2 separate regions of the Homo sapiens genome follow, and region 2 is linked to region 1. Evidence: promoter capture Hi-C in 16 types of primary human blood cells and fetal thymus (Javierre and others, 2016). All regions are on one chromosome and are shown on one strand. Each heading gives the region's core, a stretch centred on a gene start or on the middle of the fragment in contact. The rest is flanking DNA. Distances are from core to core; before and after follow the strand shown.

What was found. Contacts are between HindIII fragments. The CHiCAGO score rates a contact against its expected background, and 5 or more counts as called.
Region 2: a fragment that was not itself captured here is called in contact with the fragment with the promoter of PLCB1 in region 1 in 1 of 17 cell types (megakaryocytes); the score reaches 6.0 in megakaryocytes.

The regions. Positions count from the first base shown.
Region 1 is chr20:8,129,270-8,134,884 of GRCh38, reverse strand. PLCB1 (phospholipase C beta 1) reads right to left here and starts at 2,619. Exons shown (of 32, transcript NM_015192.4): 1 at 2,135-2,619. The coding sequence starts at 2,233. RefSeq lists a silencer at 2,394-2,533. The HindIII fragment of the contact is 1,963 bases long and covers 1,967-3,929 here.
Region 2 is chr20:8,707,751-8,713,365 of GRCh38, reverse strand. PLCB1 (phospholipase C beta 1) reads right to left here. Exons shown (of 32, transcript NM_015192.4): 12 at 4,614-4,696. Among named protein-coding and RNA genes, the nearest start is that of RNU105B, 120 kb to the left of the region's middle. The HindIII fragment of the contact is 3,515 bases long and covers 1,648-5,162 here.

The DNA.
Region 1 (5,615 bases), core at 1,370-3,869:
TTTTTTTTTTTTTTTTAAAAAAGACCTGAAATTCTTCTGGTCTTCTCCTTAGTGACTATGTCCTTTCTTTCAGGAGGGCTTCCTTGGAAACTCACTGCTGCAATGCTCAGAAGGAGCTCTTTTCAACTTCTTCTTTGGTTGGTATTTCACTAACGTCCTCTCTATTACCCTCAATGCATCACCCAATCTCTCTCTCATTGGTGTTTTTGATGATTTTTGTCTCCTCCACCTAGCATGTAAGGTCCGTAACAGCAGGGATTTTGTCTACTTTTTTCACCACCCCAGAATCCAGTCTAGGATTGGCAGTAATAGGTGAGCAAGAAATATGTGTTACAGAAATGCACATAATGAAAGTCATCTACCTGGATATACCAAAATGTGTTTTCATAGAATACTTTCATTCTCAATGTGATGTTGGCTATTCTCTCCCAAACAAGAAATTATAGAGAATTATTTAAAATACAGTTTAGAATCATCACTGTATACAAATCCAGAGCTTACGCTGAAACTCCCTTTTCTAAATTCTGCAAAGTCTCTTTCTCTTTCCTCTGCCCTTCACTCTCTTTCTCAGTAAATCCATCATCACATCACCTCTCTATTCAAGGATCTCAAAATGGGCAAGACCGTCTTGTTTATTGCTGAACTGCATTTTCTTTGTCTTTTTTTTCCCTGACACAAAGCATTTAATCTGCGTCTGAATTTATTGTTTAGATTCTATTCCATTTACAGAAACATTCAGTACAATTAGACTGGAACAGAAAGAAGAAAAGTGTGAAGCCCATGGTAAAAAGATGTATGTTTACATCCTTGCCTACAGCATTTAATAATTGGCACGAGCTTTCAAGGAAGCTGTGGTTCATACTCCAAGTTCCGTTTGCGCTTCCAGCTGGACAAAATATAGACACAGACGCACTCAGCTAAGTAATTGGATTCACTACCTGGAATATTTAAATTGTTTTCAGACACTGGAAAATGGCTTAAGAAGATTAAAGAAAAATACCCTAGAGGATAACAGGCTATAATTTACTAGGTGGAAAATCTTTTCGGCAAGAAGAACGCCTCATTCTCCTATAATTCCTTCTGATTAAGAGATGTATTAGTCATTTGGACTTAAATTTGCTTAGAGCCTGGCAACTCGGGTTTATTTCAGTAGGTTTTTCTTATCGAACCTTTAGAATGACACCCAGGACATAAAACTGATACCATAATGTTCTCCATCCGAAGATTCGCATGTTTTCAGCTGGATAACTAATTTACGTGTTTTGAAGACAACTGGGGTAGAGGGGAAGGGGAAGTCATTTGAAGTCCTGGGGTCTGGGCCGCTCGTAAAGCATTAGAGACCCCGGCGCTGGGCTAGGCTCTGCCCTACCTGGCAAACGGTGCAGGTAAATCGTGGGGCAAACTCTCAACCTGTCTATTTCAGGCAGAAGACTCCAATCAGCTCAGTTCTCAAAAGTCAGCCCTCCCCACTTGCCTGCAGGCCCATGAGCCCTCCAGGACCCCTCAAGGGCCCCCATTCTGTTCACGCCCTCCCCAGATGTGTCCCCGCAGCCCTTTTCAGGGACCCTCACTCCGGAGCCAGGCGCTGAAGTTTGGCATCAACGACCACCTGTTGGCTGGACCGTTGTGTCCTCCGCCGCCTTGGCTCCCACAAAAGCGCCAAGAGGGTTCGCAATCACTAAAGTGTTTTGAACTTCAGGTCCTTCCTTCTTGAAATCGGGCAAAAGAGGTAATAGGGGGTGCGTCCGCAGGCGGAGAGGGACGCGATTTGTTCACACCAGGCGCTTTCCAGTTGGTCCCAACTTCACACTCCCTACTTTCCGAACTCTCAGGACCTGTCACCAGGCAAAGCTTGCCCCTCCCTCTCCACTGGCCCAAAAGATGTAAGACCCTCAGGGGGCGCCTGCCAGACCCAGAAAGGATGGCAACTACTGAAGCCCGATGAAACAGGAGCGCGCGCAAAGCTTCTGCCCTTGGACATCCGCTTTGGCAGATGCCAACCTGTGCGCCCGAGGCTGCCCCTGCCCGCTCCCAGTGCGCCCATTGCATAACGCGCCCCTTGCCCCACCCCCACGACGCCCGCCCTGCCCGGTGCCCGAGCCAGCGCCCCGACTCGGGCCGCCCCAATACTTACATCATCCCACTTGACGAATTTGGTGCCCTTCTTGAGGCTGTCGGACACGCACACGGGCTTGAGTTGCAAGGCGTGCACTCCGGGTTGAGCCCCGGCCATCTGGGCTCATCTGGGCTCCGGGCGGCCCGGGCGAGCGCGGCAGGGACTGGGGACCGTGCGCGGGGCGCGGGGCGCGGGGCGCGGGCTCCTTTCTCTGCTCCGGAGGCGCTCGACTCTGCTCCCCGCCGGCCTCCCCGGCCTCCCGGCCTCCGCACCTCCCTCCGGCGCCGCTCAGCAGGCAGAGCGCGCGGGGGCGCAGCGCCCGGCCATGCCCCGGGCGGGACGCGAGGTCTGGAGCCCGCGGTGGATGAGGAGCCTCGGAAGGCGAAGAGAAGCCGAGCCGGTCAGCCGAGGCTGCCAGTCGCGGCGGATTCTGCTCCTCCGCCGCCGCCGCCTCAAAGCGCACCATTCAGCACATCCTCTATACACAGAGGGAGAGAGCGAGTGACACACGCCCGGCGCCCCCCCTAACCGCTCTTTTCCCTCCTCCCTCCTCCTCCCCCCCGCCCCCCTTCCCCGCCACCCTCGCTCGCTGGGTCCTTCCTTCCCCCCGCGGCTCCCAGCCCAACTTTGCACGCTGGGTCAGGCGCCAGGAAGCGGGGACGCAGCGGCACCTCCTGGCTCCCGAGCCCCATTGCAGCCAACGCCTGCCTCCCGCATTCGCTCTGAGCATGCCCCGTGCCCTGGTTGCAGAGGTGCTAGGGGTCCCCAGGAGCCTTACGCTCTTTGGGGTTTTCTTGGGAATTTGGGCTCGAGCTCCGGAGCGTCTTTGGATCCCAACTGGCTGGGAAAAGGGGCCCATCGGGAGGAACCAAAGAGGCAACCCCTGGCTTTTGGCTCTAGCTGGAGCTCTCCAGCGCCAGCCACAAACCAGCTTTTTGAAGAGAATTATCATTTATCAGCAGAGAAGAGCGCAGTTGAGAGGCTCTTTGAGGAAACCTGGCCGCGCCTGAGAGTTTGCAGCGCGCTGATCTTGAAACCCGGGCAAACGGTTACGTTGTGCTTTCGAGACAGAAAGCCCATCCTAAAGAAAGCAAAGGTTTTATTTTCCGAGGAAGAAAGAGGGTGCCCTCTCCCGCTCCTCTCCTTGAGTGTGTAGGATGTGTGGCGGGTGGGGGAGAGTCTTATTAATAGAAACTTGCTCATTTAGGAACATAGGTCCAGGAATGTTTGTCTTCACTCCTTCCACAAACATTTCTCAATTCAAGAAAGAAAGGGAGGGAGGGAGGGAAGAAGGGAAAGAGGAGGACCAGAATGGATAAAATTTTAAAGACTGGTAATACCAAATGCTTGAAAGGATGTGGAGCAACTGGAACTCTTTTTTTTTTTTTATTAAGGAGAGAGAGGAGAGGGAGAGAGAGAGTGAGTGAGTGTGAGAGAGAGAAAGAGAGAGAGAGAGAGACACACGCGGGAGGTGGGGGGGCGGAGAGAGAAATAGCTTGGAACTCTTGTTCATTGCTGGAGGGAATATAAAATAGTAAAACCACTTTGGAGAATAGTTTCTTATAAAGTAAGATATTTACTTATCATACAACCTAGAAATTCCACTCCTAAGTATTTGTCCAAAAGAAATGAAAACGTTCAAGTCTGCAGGGACTTGTAAAGTGATGTGAAGAACTTTCTTCTTAGTAGCCTGCAAATGTCAATCAACAGGTGAATGGATAAACAAACTGTGGTATGCCCAAATATTGGAATACTATTCCACAATAAAAATGAGTGGGCATGCAAGATCAGGGATGAATCGCGACTTTAAGCTTTGTAAAAGAAGCCGGACACGATAGACTGTATGCTGCCTGATTCCATGTGTAGGAATTGCAGAATAGGCAAGATATTCTATGTTGACAGAAAGCTTGCCTGTGGCCAGGGATAGGTAGAGATGGACAGGGAAGGGCTACGAGCACCTGATGAGCATGTCGGAAATGTTCTATATCGTGTGTGTGTTTATCAAAACTTGTAAGTTCTGTAAGTACGCCTAAATTGAGTGCAGTTTGTTTTAAATAAATTATATCTCAAAAAGGTTGATTTTTAAAAAGAAGAAAGAATACGAAGAGAGAAAAATGGAGAGAAACACTACATTCTCTTAATCCTTCATTCTCCCTGTTCTCTGCCCTCAGGACTCCAAGGCCCAATGCTTATGAACTCAGTCAAAAGATTACCAAAATCCAATACAGAAATTTGCTATTAAATATTTCAATGCATTTAAAATATACTTATTGGTAGCCAGCTGTATACTAGCCACTATTGTAATCACCATGGATAACCTGGTGAACAAGACCCATGACTCTTGCTGTCATTTGAGGGTCTTGCCTTGTGCTTGGAAGCCAATTGCTACAAAGAATTTCATGAAAAACTGACTGGTTTCATTTTGATCACATGTCCCTAAACTAAAACCTGAATGGTCCACAGTCCCTCTAGCCAGCAGCCTTGGCTTGCTAATTACCTCACAGAAGGTATCAGTCACCGTCTCAAGTCGATTTTCTCTACTTCAGAGTACTGCAATGAAACTCTGCTTCCAGGGCTCCAGAACTTCTCAATTGTCCTTACAACTGATCATACCAAATTGTTTTCCTTTCCTTTCCTTTCCTTTCCTTTCCTCCTTTCCTTTCCTTTCTTTTCCTTTTCTCCTTCTATCTCTTTGTTATTTACTGGAAAGATTATTGGCCAAATAGTTTTTACCTGTCACAGTGGCTTAGGAAGGCAAGACAGGGCTGCGCTCACTAGAAGAGGAGATTGGAGAGTTACAATGAGCTCTAAGCAAAATAAGAAGTAGATTGAGCCTCCTGTGGTAGTTTATTGCATCATAGCTCTCTGCTCCCTGCTCCTTTCTGCGTCCACACATTTTTCTTTGTGACCTTACAGTTTTTACTAGACACCCTGTTTATTTATCCATCCCATTGATGTTGGACAATGTGACTTGCTTTGGCCAATGGCATGTTTGAAGATGTGATATTAGCAAAGGCTCAAAATATGCTTTGAGGTTGGGCTTTCCCTCTTGGGTTTCTTATCATTTCCATGAGATAAACATGCCTCAGGGAGCCTCTGATCTAAGGAGACAATCAGGACAGACCTAAGCCCCATTTACAGCTTGGAAGCAAGTCCAGTAGAAACCATCCTAGATCTCCCAGACTCAGCCAACCTGCAGACTCATGAACATGACAATAAACGTTCATTGTTGAATGGCACTGAGTTGGGAGTCATTTGGTAACCACCATTATTGGCAATGGATAGTTGAGTATTTCATCTAGCATCCCTGATTCCTCCCAGCTGTTGCTGTGAACGTGGACGTAAAAAGGAGAGAACGCTGTAGAAATCTGAACAGGATTTGTCTTCAAGACAAACATGGGCTGCAAGAGTTTCTTCAGCCAGCAAAATGACGCAGTTTGTTAAAGGAGAACTACAGGATAAATACCTTCAACATGTAGCATGATGCTTGAAGCAGCAT
Region 2 (5,615 bases), core at 2,156-4,655, 580 kb before region 1:
ACTAAAAATGCAAAAGTTTGCCAGTTGTGGTGGTGCGTGCCTGTAATACCAGCTACTTAGGAGGCAGGAGAATCGCTTGAATCTGGGAGGTGGAGGTTGCAGTAAGCCGAGATTGCACCACTGCACTCCTGCCTGGGTGACAGAGTGAGACCCTCAAACCAAACAAACAAACAAAAACAAAAACAAAACCTGCCTCAGAATCAACTGAGATGGACAGAACAAGAGGTAGGTGTCCTAGCAAAAAGTAAAATGAGCTATTTGGTAATCAGGCTATTCATGTTCTCAATAAACATGCACACCCACCTGATGGAACTAAATCAGAGCAGAGAGCAAATTGAATTGAAAAAGTCAGAGGAAAACAAACCAACTTTAATTGCAGGTCAGAACTGCAGAAATAAAAGGCATTAAAATTGCAATTAGCAAAAAACAAAATCCTGAAGTGTTTAGAGCATCAATATCAGCTACCATGGGGACAAAGTGAGAGGGAAAAAAAATCACAAATGCATTTTGAGCTTCAGGTCATAGCAGACATTTCTGAGCATAATAAAATACTCCCAAGGTGTGAGCGTCTGGGGCAGAGGTCAGTTTTTCTGACCGAGGAACTCACTTGATTTCTTGGGAGCAAATCCTCCAGTTTGAACTAAACCAACCTCTTTCCCTATAAAGGAGGAATCTGCAATCCATGGAAATTAAGAACCTTGTTCAAAATTTCACAGCTTTCTGTGGCTGAACATGGGTAAAGATTACTTCCATTGAATTTGGTGTAGAATTCTTTTTATAAAAGTGTTAGTTCACAAGTAGGATGTCAGAGTCAAGTAGGGCTTTTAAAAATATATTTTCAAGTCTTATTTCTAGAAATTCTCAGTCAGGGTAAGGGTGTAGCTCAGGAATCTGCATTTTGAAGACACTTCATGGGATTCTGATGTAGCAACAGGATACATTGAAAGCAGCTAATAGCAGATTCCCTTTTATTGTCTATGGATAGGTGACTTCAGATATTGGGAGAGAAAACCAGAAGTTTCAGTGGCTTTTCTCATTTTTTCTTTCTTTTTTAATTAATTTAGTTTTTTTGAGACAAAGTCTCACTCTGTCACCCAGGCTGGAGTGCAGTGGCGTGATCTCAGCTCACTGCAGCCTCTGCCTCCCAGGTTCAAGCGATTCTCCTGCCTCAGCCTCCTGAGTAACTGGGACTGTAGGCACCCGCCATAACACCTGTTTTGTATTTGTAGTAGAGACTGGATTTCACAATGTTGGCCAGGATGGTCTCGATCTCCTGACCTCATGATCCACCAGTCTCGGCCTCCCAAAGTGCTGGGATTACAGGCGTGAGCCACCGTGCCCTGTCCTTTTCTCCTTTTTTCTAGTATAAATTTGTTTTGGACGTGTGGCCCAAGTGAGCTGGGACCAGAGTTCTGAATCTGAAATTCCATACATGCAGCACACAGGGAAATAAAATAGTTCATCAGAGATGGCAAATAGGTGTCAGATGTCTTGCTGGTCTAGTCTGAGGTCACTGTGTTGAGAAGGATTCTGAGGTTATTTCTAGGGTTAGTGGGAAAGAGTGCTGCTACTGCCTACCATGGGCTCAGGAACTAGATGAAGTGGCTCACAAGTCAAGCACGGGGTTTTACCAGCGAAGGGAAAGCTTATCGGTTTTCTTTGGGTGTGTGCTAGCCTCCCAGGAAAGAATGGTGGCTGAACAATTTTGATATCTGAAGGACAAGGGAAATATGAAGCAAGCAACTCCCACCCACTTCCTCCACAATAGAATTTTATCTTTTAGTATTTCACTGCCATTACATTATCTCAGTGGCTTGGGACACAATCATGGCATCCTGGAAAGGCTGTTTTCCTGTTTTCTTTTGTCACATAGAAATTATTAATGAACTTTTAATAGCTAAATTTATCATTTTTAAGCCCATAAGGGCAGTACAATGGCACTAGTCTCTTTGCCTTTAGGCACAGTGCAGAAATTAGTTTTCATGTCCAGTTTTTGATCTCTAAATGACTAGTGTGAAGAACTGCAAAACACATCTTGTGTTTAAGGGTTACAAGCCACAGAGGCAAACATTTGCTGGCCATTGCCTGGTGGATGCTCTCGTTGTCTGAATTTGATGTTTTGAAGGCTCCTGATGCTTCTGTTTAGGCGTAGGAGATGTGTTGGTTAAAAGTGTGCATTTTGAAGCCACACTAACTGGATTGGAATCCCATCTCTGTCATGTTTTAGTTACATGGCCTTGAGCAAGTTATTCATCCTCTTTAGGACTCAGTTCCATCATCTGTAAAATGGCGATAATCATAATATTTACTCTTAGAAGCACCTGGGTTTGTGGTAAGGCTTACATGAGCTGAGGCATGTAAAATATTTCAAAAACTGCTTGGCACAAAAAATGTTTAATAAATGTTCGCTATTAATAAAGGTTAGCTATTATGTTGGTGGTGGTGGTGGCGGTTGATATTTTTCTGGCTATGCCAAGGGGAAGCTCAGTGTAGCAGGTGTGACAATATAGAATGGAACCATAGCCTTTCATTTTGTCTAATTTAAATAGAAACTTCTCTTTAAGAACATAAGTATGCCAATCCCAGCACTTTGGGAGGCCGAGGTGGGCGGATCACCTGAGGTCGGGAGTTCGAGACTAGCCTGACCAACATGGAGAATCCCCGTGTCTACTAAAAATACAAAATTAGCTGAGCATGGTGGTGCATGCCTGTAATCCCAGCTACTCGGAAGGCTGAGGCAGGAGAATTGCTTGAACTCGGGAGATGGAGGTTGCAGTGAACCAGGATTGTGCCATGGCACTCCAGCCTGGGCAACAAGAGTGAAACTCCGCTTCAGAAAAAAAAAAAAAAAAAAAAAAAAAAAGCATCCTCAAGTCGAAACTATAATACCTGAAAGAAAAGTGCTCAAGTATTGTGATATGGTTTGAATCTGCATCCCTGCCCAAATCTCATGTCAAATTGTAACCCCCGATGTTGGAAGTGGGGCCTGGTGGGAGGTGATTGGATCATGGGGGAGATTTCTTATGGTGTAACACCATTCCCCTTGGTACTGTTGTTGCGATAGTGAGTTCTCATGAGATCTGGTTGTTTAAAAGTGTGTGACACCTCCCCACTCTCTCTTAGTTCTCCTCCTGCCATGTAAGACACCTGCTCCCACTCTGTCTTCCCGTGAGTAAAAAGCTCTCTGAGGACTCCCCAGGAGCAGATGCCACCATGCTTCCTGTACAGCCTGTGGAACTGTGAGCCAATTAAACCTCTTTTCTTCATAAATTACCCAGTCTCTTACCCAGGCATTTCTTTATAGCAGTACAAGAATGGACTCATACGTATTGTTACAGGCCAATTATAAATGAATTGACAGAGATGAGAAATTGTTTAACAGAGTCAATTGCAAAGCAGAACCTAGTTGCAAAGCAAACTAGGTATTAAATACTGCTTCTAGAGATGCCCCTTTGAGTAAGAACAGAAATAGCATGGAACAGAATAAATTCCTTTCTCTTCCTTTGACCCTCAGAAGCGTTGGAGAAACTATGTGCCAAAGGATTACATCATTCATTGGATGATTGTTGCATAATGAAGCAGAACCACAAGCCGGTAAATATAATATGGATTTCTGGCGGGCAAACTGAAAAAATACAGATAATTATAAAATTGTCACATTTAACTACTTAGAAATTCTTCAAGTTGAAATTTGCCCATGACCAATCTGCATCTTTAAGATCTAGTGAACTCTTTAAGAATTAGAGAATTGAAGCACATGTTACAAATTACTTGGACAAAGAGGCTCAGTGACCTGGGAAAGACTCCCAATAGGAAGGAGGGTAAAAAGAAACTCGTAATCCAAATTAGGACAGGTGCTGCTGGCTTTTAGTTGAAAAATCTGGCTTAGGTTCCTGAAATGAAAGAGAGGCTTTCATTCAATATGGATAAGAATCTTTCATTCTGAAGCTCTTTAAAGTAACTACATGATAAACTAATATACATCTATTAGATATAAATGTGTCTCTCTTTGGTAATGTGTGATAAAATGAATATAAAACAGTGAAGTCAAAATAACCTTTTCTTTGTGTAGCTCAGCAATACATGCAGGCTATTTTGAAATTGGCAAATACAAATATTAACAAACAGGGGAAAGCCAGTGAAAAGGGGGAATATGGAGATTTGCTGAACTGAGTTCTGTGTAAGTGCAAATTGGTAAAATGGAATTCACAGCTCTCCCCCCACCTGCCACAAAGTGATGAAGTGGACTCAAATTGTGTGCAATAGAAGGAGCTAATGAAGAAGGGTTATAAAAGTGGCCCACAGCACCCCAAATCTATAACAGAGACATGTATTGTGTAGAAAAATGTGTTCCACTGCATTGCAAAAAGAAGAGTTTTTAATTTAAAAACCATACTATGGTATGAAAATAGATCCTACAAGTCCAACGGATAATTTTAATGTTGATTATTTTAAGTGAATTCCATCACCTACAAATGAAAACATGCCAGTTAATATACAACATGATTGAAGAACACCATTAATCATGTCAAATAATCTTAAATCTGATAAACAATTACTCAGTATGCCCTATTCGGGAAAAAGACTCATTCCTGAATGTGTTGAATACTTACGAATCCACATGGTTCTCAAACGAAAGGAGAATTGGAAAAGGTGAAGTCTTAAATGCACACTCCGCAATTGCTTCTATCACTTCCTAAAAATGAGAACACATGTATATTCAGTATGCCAGAATTTTTCATCTGTATATTCTTGAAAGGTATTAAATCTATTAATATAGTTGTCTTTTCCATTCAGAGAATTGTATCGAATGGCCTGAAATGGCTAGAAGGGATTTTGAGGGCTGCTGGACGGTGCTAATTCTGACTCTTGATTCTGGAAAGTTATAAGAAGATTGGATTTTGGTGGAGGGGAGAGAGAAATGCAAAGGAGAGGATTCTCCTGTTTGCTAATTGTATCTATTTTTTAATAATCAAAGAAATCTAATCATATTATAAACATTTGGGACAGTAAGAGAAGGCAAAAATTTTCACCCACAAATCCACTTTCTGAACCAAACCATTGTTAGCATTTCATTATATTCACTTCTAGTCTGTCTCTCATGTATTTATGTAGCTTAGTTTTAATTACAGTATATACTCAACTTGTATTTTTAAAAAGCTTTGTTATTGAGATGTGACTTTTTTGAGATATAATCTGCCCATTGAAAGTGTACAGTTCAATGGTTTTTAGTATATTCAGAGAGTCATGCGAGCACCATCCCAATATAAGTTAGAACATTTTTATCGCCTCAAAAAGAAACCATGTACCCACTAGCAGTCACTCCTCATTCCTGCACCCCACCCCACACACCTAGTCCCAGGCAATCATTCATCACTTTATGTATTCATAGATTTGCCTATTCTAATTATTTCATATAAATGTAACCATACAATATATGGTTGTTTGTGCCGACCACCTTTCACTTAGCATGGTTTCAAAGTTCATCCATGTTGTAACATGTATCAGTACTTCAATTTTCAATCTGCATTTTTAAAAATGTATATGTCACAAGTTTCAATATATGTACAAAATTCTAGAAAGTAAAGGTATTAAAATTGATTTAACCATTCCCC